2 separate regions of the Homo sapiens genome follow, and region 1 is linked to region 2. Evidence: promoter capture Hi-C in 16 types of primary human blood cells and fetal thymus (Javierre and others, 2016). All regions are on one chromosome and are shown on one strand. Each heading gives the region's core, a stretch centred on a gene start or on the middle of the fragment in contact. The rest is flanking DNA. Distances are from core to core; before and after follow the strand shown.

Region 1 (4,381 bases), core at 1,023-3,522, 540 kb before region 2:
CAGCGTACACCTGTAGTCCCAGCCACTGGGGAGGCTGACATGGAAGGATAGCTCGAGACCAGGAAGCAGAAGTTGCAGTAAGCCACACTCCAACCTGGGCAACAGAGTAAGACTCTTGTCTCAAAACAAAAAAAAAAAAAACCCTTTATTTACAAAAACAAGTGGTGAGGCAGATTTAGCCCACAGGCCACAGTTTGCTGACCCCCAAGTTCAACAATGGAGATGGTTAAGGGTCAGTTGCATATGACTGAGGAATTGGGAATCCTCAGAGCTAAAGTCTGGGAATTAGCATCATTAAAGGAAAACAATGTGTGTTATACACCCACTGTGTACTAGGCATAGTGATAGTCTCTGTACAAATGTCTTTAGTTTAATCTTCACACTATGACATAAGTGTTACTCTCTGCATTTCACAGATTAGGGAAATGGAAACTCAAAAAAGGTGAAGTGATCATTCAAAGTCACACACTAGTGAGTGGTAGAGCCAGGGTTTTTAAGCAGGTCTCTCCAACTTCAAGCCTAAGAGTTCTACTTGAAACCCTGAAAGCCCTTGTCTCTGACCACGGGTGCTGCCTCCCTCCCACCCAGAGTCTCTTGAGAAGAGGATTAGGGACTGCTAAGCCCCAGAAATCCATATCAAGGGTTGGATTTCCATTGTCGTGCCATAAGGGGAATTAGAAAATGCCCTGGATTTCATACATAGAAAGCCCTGCACTAAGCATTTGGTGCACGGTAGAGTACAGTAAGTGTTAGCTGAGATGAATGGGAACGATGATTTGAAGGCCAGTCCGGGGGAAGCCCACAGGATGCTGGGGCACTTCCTGGATTACAGAGGAATCCTCGCCTTTTCAGTCTCTTATTTTCTCAGCCATAGACCTACTCTAGGATTGACACAGCCTTCTATAAAAAGTGTTCCTGGGCCGGGTACAGTGACTCATGCCTATAATCCCAGCACTTTGGGAGGCCAAGATGGGCGGATCACGAGGTCAGGAGATCGAGACCATCCTGGCTAACACAGTGAAACCCCATCTCTACTAAAAAATACAAAAAAATTAGCCGGGTGTGGTGGCGGGCACGTGTAGTCCCAGCTACTTGGGAGGCTGAGGCAGGAGAATGGCGGGAGCCTTGGAGGCAGAGCTTGCAGTGAGCTGAGATCGTGCCACTGCACTCCAGCCTGAGCGACAAAGCAAGACTCCATCTCAAAAAAAAAAAAAAAAGTGTTCCTGCCTCCTGTCCCCAGTTCTTGGTCCCTAAAGCCCACATTGACATCCCCGTTTCCTATAGCACAGTTAGTGATTACCCAGGCTGCCCCCTGCTTCCCACAGCTGACCCACATAGGACCAGGACACCATTAGAATCCCAGCAACTGGATAGTGAGCAGGCATGCCCAAGAGCTTTGGAAGCATAGGCCAAGGGCCCCGAGCTGCCACTGTGACCAGATGCTGAGCCAACAAGGCTCCAAGCAATTTCCCTAAGGTGACACAGTGAGGACACTGTGGAACCAAGGCTGGAGTCTCTCTGACTCCAAAGCCTACCCTCTTCACCCCTTCTTCATACAAGATCCTGCCTGTGTGAGTGCAGACCCCTCACGCAGTCCTCACCAAATCCTATTGATTCTGTCTTTAAAATAGAACTCAAATCCATCTTCTGTTCCTCATCCCCACTGCCAAAGTCCCAGACTAGGCAGCCATCATCTCATACCTCGACCCCCACAAAGACCTCTGGCTTCCACGCTGCCCCTCCCCACTCCACAGTCTTCACCCAGCAATAAAGTGATCTTAAAGCATACATCGGATCATCTCAGTCTCCTCTTAAAGCTTGTTACAGGCTTCCCACTCACTCATTCACTAAAACAAGATCAGTTCTCCATACCACAGTGCTGAGGTCATGTTCTCATACCACAGGTTGTGACCCATTCGAGAAATCAATCTAGTGAGTTGCAAATAGCACTTTTTAAAATTAAAGTTGAGCAGAAAAGAATGAAAAATAGCAGAGTATCACACATAGTAAGGGTAAGTATTCTGTGAAACACAGGCTTGTGTTACACGTACATTCATGTATGTATATGTACGAATTCACAGTGGAACTCATGGTTACTGTGGGTCAGAATTCTGAAAGTCTAATATCACCTGCCCGGCCCCTGCTGCATCAGCCAGGCCAGCCATGTCTCAAGCCACTCTTCCCATCACTCTCCACCCTGCGGTGCAGCATCATCCCATCCCAGTCCTTTGTCCTGCTACAGCATCTCTGCATCTGCTGCATGCCCTACCTAAGATGTTCTTTGTGTGCTCTGAGACGGTAGCACCTCTATCCTTTCACTCTTAGCCTGTCACCTCCTCAGAGAAGTATCCTTGACTCCCATCTAAAGTAATTCTCTTGATGTTCCTGTCTCTTTATAATTTATCATTATCATATCTGCTTTTTTTCACCTGTTCGACTCCACTAGAATGAAACTAAGGAAACTGTCTGTATTGTTCAAGTGCCTGGGTGCAAGATAAATATCTGTAGATGGAAGGAAGGCAGCCCAGATACCCAGGTTCCAGCTCCAACTCTGCCTAGATAAGCCAGGGGGCTCTGGGCAAGTCACTTCCTCATTTCCTCCCCTGTTGCATGAGGGGTTCAAAGTCGATGTTCGATAAGGGCCTTCTCAGTACTGACATTCTAGAATTCTTTTGTCTGGAACTGGAATGTGGGCTGGGAGTTGATGCTCATTTCTTTCAAGCTTATAGAATTTTTCATTTCCTTATCTCATTTGATTTCTACAGTAGCTCCTGGAGGAGGCGAGTCAGGCTGTTCTTGCCTGTGCTATTTACACATTAGAGTAACTAAAACTCAGTGACAGGAATTTTCTCAAACTAGCAGAATAGCAAAACCAGGTTTGGCATCTGTGCTCTTGACTTCTACTTTTATGCTTTGTTGCCTAAAACTACCTGAGTCAGGCCGGGCGCAGTGGCTCACGCCTGTAATCCCAGCACTCTGGGAGGCCGAGGCGGGCGGATCAGCTGTGGTCAGGAGTTCGAGACCAGCCTGGCCAACATGGTGAAACCCATCTCTACTAAAAATACAAAAATTAGCCGGGCGTGGTGGCAGGTGCCTGTAATCCCAGCTATTCGGGAGGCTGAGGCAGGTGAATCGCTTGAACCCAGGAGGCAGAGGTTGCAGTGAGCCGAGATCATGCCATTGCACTCCAGCCTGGGAGACAAGAGCAAGACTTCATCTTAAAAAAAAAAAACATGTGAGTCAACCTGCTCTGGATGAGAAGAATGAGGACTGTGTAGGAAAAAGGGGGCTTTCTCAGCTTCTCCTGCCCTGGTGGTAATGTTACTACTGTCTTACCCTTAGATTGCAGCAGTTTGAGGTCATTAACTACCTGCACGGTGACATTAACTAAATCTAATGGTAACTCAGAGAAGCAGCCTCTCTGAATCGCCCTTACAATGGTATTTGGCATATTTTGTTTTGGTTTGTTTTTTGTTTTTTGGGTTTTTTTGAGACAGGTTCTTGCTGTGTCACCGAGGCTGGAGTGCAGTCACACAATCATAGCTCACTGTGTCCTTAAATTACTGGGCTCAAGCAATCTTCCCACTTCAGCCTCATGAGAAGCCGGGACTGCAGGGCATTATGCCCAGCTAATTTTTTTTTTTTTTTTTTCTGTAGAGACAAGGTCTCACTATGTTGCCCAGGCTGGTCTTGAGCTCCTGGCCTCAAGCAGTCCTCCCACCTTGCCTCCCAAAGTGCTGAGATTATAGGCATGAGCCACCACACCCCATTTTTACTACATGTTTAAGATAAGAATGACTGTCTATTTTGGGCCAGGCACAGTGGCTCATGTGTGTAATCCCAGCACTTTGGGAAGCCGATGCAGGCGAATCACCTGAGACCGGGAGTTCAAGACCAGCCTGACCAACAAGGCAAAACCCTGTCTCTACTAAAAATAAATAAATTAGCCATGTATGGTAGTGCATGCCTGTAATCCCAGCTACTCAGGGGGCTGCAGCATAAGAATCACGAACCCAGGAGGCGGAAGTTGCAGTGAGCCAAGATCGCGCCATTGCACTCCAGCCTGGGCTACAGAGCAAGACTCTGTCTCCAAAAAAAAAATTAAAAAGAATAACAATCTATTGTGCATAATTATCATGAGGACTCAGACATTCAGAGGAACGTCCAGATTTTCTTCTTTTTCTAAACATCCTGGATGCTATCCTGGATGCTTCCAGTGGATGCTACCCACTATCCTGGATGCTTCTTGGCCAAGGAGGGTGAGCTGGGGTTGAATGTGCACAGGGCTCCTTCCTTATGATCCTGGCTTCATCTTCTGACTCAGGAACCTGGCGGACCGAGGCTGTGTTCAGCGAGGAAGCACTGATCCAAGTTCCGAGTG
Region 2 (4,332 bases), core at 1,364-3,863:
ACCTGTAGTCCCAGCTACTCAGGAGGCTGAGCTGAGAGGATCGAGTTTGCAGTGAGCTGAGATCCCGCAATGCACTCTCACCTGGGCAACAGAGGGAAACTCTGTTCCCCCAAAAAAATAAAATAAAAAAGAAATTTCCACTCTAAACTACAGTTTTGTTTAAAACGGGGGGAAAAATCCAAGTTAAAACTTTATTATTACTTGAGGCCAAAACTCCTTGATATCCCCTTTATTTCTTCTCATGCATTCAGTGGGTGATCCATAGTGCTACAAGATGTAATGAGGTCAACAAGTAAATTATGCAGAAACACTGAGGGAAGTATCCAGAGGAGGTGAAATTCTAAGTCACAGACTGGAGACTATTATGTAGATGTTTGAGGGAGCGATGGGATAAGAGTTATTTGGAGTCATCCCGCTACAGTCCGGTGGACTTTGGCTTAGGGCAAGACCAAAATACTGCCCCCACAATAAACCCAATGAAGCTGAGTAGAAGCTACCTATACAATGTATTTGCTGAAGTAAATAGGAACCCAAAAAAAATCATTTAAGTAAGATATTAAATATACATCCTTGATATAAGGCTCTCAAATTAGGAGACGGTGCAACCATTGAATAAGTTTCCCCCGCCGGGCGCAGTGGCTCACGCCTGTAATACCAGCACTTTAGGAGGCCAACGCGGGCGAATCACAAGGTCAGGAGATCGAAACCATCCTGGCTAACATGGTGAAACCCCGTCTCTACTAAAAACACAAAAAAATTAGCCTGGTTGGGCCAGGCGCAGTGATTCACGCCTGTAATCCCAGTACTCTGGGAGGCTGAGGATGTGGGATCACCTGAGGTTGGGAGTTCGAGACCAGCCTGGCCAACATGGTGAAACCCCGTCTCTATTAAAAATACAAAAATTAGCTGGGTGTGGTGGCGGGCGCCTGTAGCCCCAGCTACTCGGGAGGGTGAGGCAGGAGAATCGCTTGAACCCAAGAGGCGGAGGTTGCAGTGAGCTGAGATCGCGCCATTGCACTCCAGTCTGGGCAACAGGAGTGAAACTCCGTCTCAAACAACAACAACAACAACAACAAAATTGGCTGGTGTGGTGGCACGCGCCTGTAGTCCCAGCTACTCGGGAGGCTGAGGCAGGAGAATCGTTTGAACCCAGGAGGCGGAAGTTGCAGTGAGCCACCACTCCAGCCTGGGCGATAGAGTGAGACTCCGTCTCAAAAAACAAATAAATAAATAAATAAATAAAAAGGGTCCCCAAATGCACTTTGGTAACTATTAGAAGAGGCAAGGAGGAAGAAGATAATCCCTCAAGACTAGAATTATGTCTGACAGTCTCTTTTCCTAAAACCCGTCTTGATTGGCCTAAACAGACACCAATCAAGGCCCCATCTGTGTCTACTAGGAAGTGGTTTTGAGATTTCTCTCATCTTGAGAGAATCCAGGGCTGCGCCTGCTCTGCTGTCTAGGTCAAGACTTCACCCTCTTGTCTTGTGGATCATCCTCCAAAGACCCTCGGGTTGAGATTTTGCCTTCATCTCTCCTGCCCCTCAATTAGATAACACCTGGCCAATTCCTGTCATTTCAGAAAGCGGGAACACCTTAAGCATCTTTCCTCAACGATCTCTGCTTCTCTCAAAAAGATAGGTTTCTCCATCCCCTGACCGAGCGGGTTACTTTGTTCTCCACCTAGACATCAAGAGGCACCTAGACACCTTCCATCCCCTCAGGTTTGGACGCTGCTCTTTCGTACTTCAGGAGGCTCTAGGAGTCTTCCTACCACGCGCTCATCTGTGGGGAGACCTGGGCCTGCTCACTTCCCCTTAGAGCTCCTCTTCCTTCCCTGCCTTTGGAAAAAACCTGCCCTTTTTTCCCTTGTTCTGAGTGGCCGAGGCCTCTACCGCGCCCCTCGGGATAAGCTGGACTCTGCTCTCCTCAGAAGAACCCACTCTGTACTCTTGCTCTCCCGCCAAGGCTCCGAGAGGGTCTCCTCCCAGGCGGGCATCCGGGCTTCCAGCACCTATCGTCCCCCTCCCACTGGGCAGGACCCAGGCCTCCAACCAGCTCCTCATCCAAGGGCCCGGTGCTCCCCGGACCCCGCCTTTGGGGATACCCCAGGCTCCCCGGACCCCTCGATGGGGTCCTGGGCGCCTGGCCCTCTCAGTCCGGAGTCACTCCGGCCCCTCCTGGCCCCTGAGCCGAGTACTTCCGGGCCCCTCGGTCCGGGGGCGCCGGGGCCCCCCCAGTGGTGGACTCGCCGGTTCCCGCCGCCCTGGTCTGGGGCCCGAGCCCCGGCGGCGCGGCCGGCTGCGCTGGGGGCGGCCCGGCGGCTCGGGCGGACCCAGCGGCAGCGTCCCCCCACCCCCCCGCGGCGCCGCGACGTCCGCTCGCTCCCCGGCGGCGGCGGCGGCACGCACAGGGCGTGGGGAGGCGCCCGCGGAGGCAGCAGCCCCCCGCCCCCTGCGCGCCCGCCCGCCCTCGCCGGCCGCCGCGCGGCCCCCGCGCCCGCCCCCCCGCCCCCACCCCACCCCGCGCCCGCGCGCCCACCCCTCCCCCTCCTCACCGTCTCCGTCGGGCGGGCGGGCGGCGAGCGGCCAGGGCGGGCAGGCGACGGAGCATGCGCAGAGGCCGCCACGGCAGCTACCGCCACCGCCGCCGCCAGGCCGGGCTTCAACACTTCCGGCCGCCGCCGCCGGAGAGCTGGCGCCTTAAAGGGGACGCGTCCCTATTGCCGGTCCCACCGAGGATTAACCTTAGCCAAGGGATTTGGGCCTTACCTAAGCAGAATTCTTTCGCCCTTGAAAATCAGTGTTGGAAAGGTCGCTAGAGACCCCAGTAACTCTCCTTCCCGCACTCATAGATGAGGAAAATAGGCCCTAAATGAAAGAATCACCTCAACCACAATTGAGGGCCAAGCTAGCTTTCTCGACTCCTCTGGAGGACTCTACTCCATTTACCTCCCCAAATCCTGTTTTATGAAGTTTACATCTTATCGGACCCTTCAAGTTACAATCCAGCTATCAGTTTGCAATCAGAAGATCTGCATAGATCAGTAACTGGTCACGAGTCCTTGAGCAAGCCCTAAGCATTGTCTGACCCGTGCCTGTTTGCCAAGTTTTTCCTGCTTGTGAGTTTCTGGGTTGAAGTCTTGACTCCCCTGCTGGAAGTGTAAACGACTCTGGAGGAATTTCTTGACAGCTCTAAACCTGTTTCCGATAAGACATAATGTGAGTGCTAAAGAAGGTGATACCTGCATGAAAAGTGCTTCAGAGAGTTCCTGGGGTCAGTAATAGTAATTAACAAGTATTAAGACCTTTATTTTTTATTTATTTATTTATTTTTTTAGACAGAGTCTTGCTCTTTGGCCAGGCTGGAGTGCAGTGGCGCGATCTCGGCTCACTGCAGCTTCAGCCTCCTGGGTTCAAGTGATTCTCCGGCCTCAGCCTCCCGAAGAGCTGGCACTAGAGGCGCGCGACACCACGCCCGGCAATTTTTTTTTTTTTTTGTATTTTAGTAAAGACAGGATTTCACCATGTTGGCCAGGATGGTCTCAATATCTGACCTCATGATCCACCCGCCTGGGCCTCCCAAAGAGCTGGGATTACAGGCGTGAGCCACCGCGCCCGGCCGTATTAAGACCTTTCTATGGCCAGGTGTGGTGGCTTACGCCTGTAATCCCACACTTTGGGAAGCCGAGGCGGACAGATCACTTGAGACCAGGAGTTCGAGACCAGCCTGGGCAACATGGTGAAACCCCGTCTCTACTAAAAATACAGAAATTAGCCGGGCGTCGTGGCACGCGCCTCTAGTCCCAGCTACTCAGAAGGCTGAGCCAGGAGAATCACTTGAACCCGGGAGGCGGAGGTTGCAGTGAGCCGAGATCAGGCCATTGCACTCCAGCCTGGGCAACAGAGTGAGACTCTATCTCAAAAAACAAACAAACAAAAAGACCTTTCTATGGCCTATGGCTTGGTGAAGATGCTTCTGTCTTGTATAATCCTCACAGCAACCCTACTAAGTAAGTTTCTCTTTTTTTTTTTTTTTGAGACGGAGTCTTGCTCTGTCGCCCAGGCCGGAGTGCAGTGGCGCAATCTCGGCTCACTGCAAGCTCCGCCTCCTGGGTTCACACCATTCTCCTGCCTCAGTCTCCTCAGTAGCTAGGACTACAGGCGTCCGCCACTACGCCTGGCTAATTTTTTTGTATTTTTTAGTAGAGACAGGGTTTCACCGTCTTAGCTAGGATGGTCTCGATCTCCTGACCTTGTGATCCGTCCGCCTCAGCCTCCCAAAGTGTTGAATTACAGGCGTGAGCCACCGCGCCCGGCCCTTCTTTTCTTT

Evidence for each region. Contacts are between HindIII fragments. The CHiCAGO score rates a contact against its expected background, and 5 or more counts as called.
Region 1: a fragment that was not itself captured here is called in contact with the fragment with the promoter of GMEB1 in region 2 in 1 of 17 cell types (neutrophils); the score reaches 5.1 in neutrophils.

Annotation. Positions count from the first base shown.
Region 1 is chr1:29,206,849-29,211,229 of GRCh38, reverse strand. MECR (mitochondrial trans-2-enoyl-CoA reductase) reads left to right here. Exons shown (of 10, transcript NM_016011.5): 4 at 4,325-4,381. Among named protein-coding and RNA genes, the nearest start is that of MECR, 22 kb to the left of the region's middle. RefSeq lists enhancers at 622-741, 1,510-2,011. The HindIII fragment of the contact is 905 bases long and covers 1,820-2,724 here.
Region 2 is chr1:28,667,065-28,671,396 of GRCh38, reverse strand. It overlaps GMEB1 (glucocorticoid modulatory element binding protein 1), which reads right to left and starts at 2,613. Exons shown (of 10, transcript NM_001319674.2): 1 at 2,558-2,613. RefSeq lists enhancers at 1,372-1,431, 1,482-1,531 and silencers at 2,062-2,351, 2,362-2,471, 2,502-2,641. The HindIII fragment of the contact is 26,935 bases long and covers 1-4,332 here.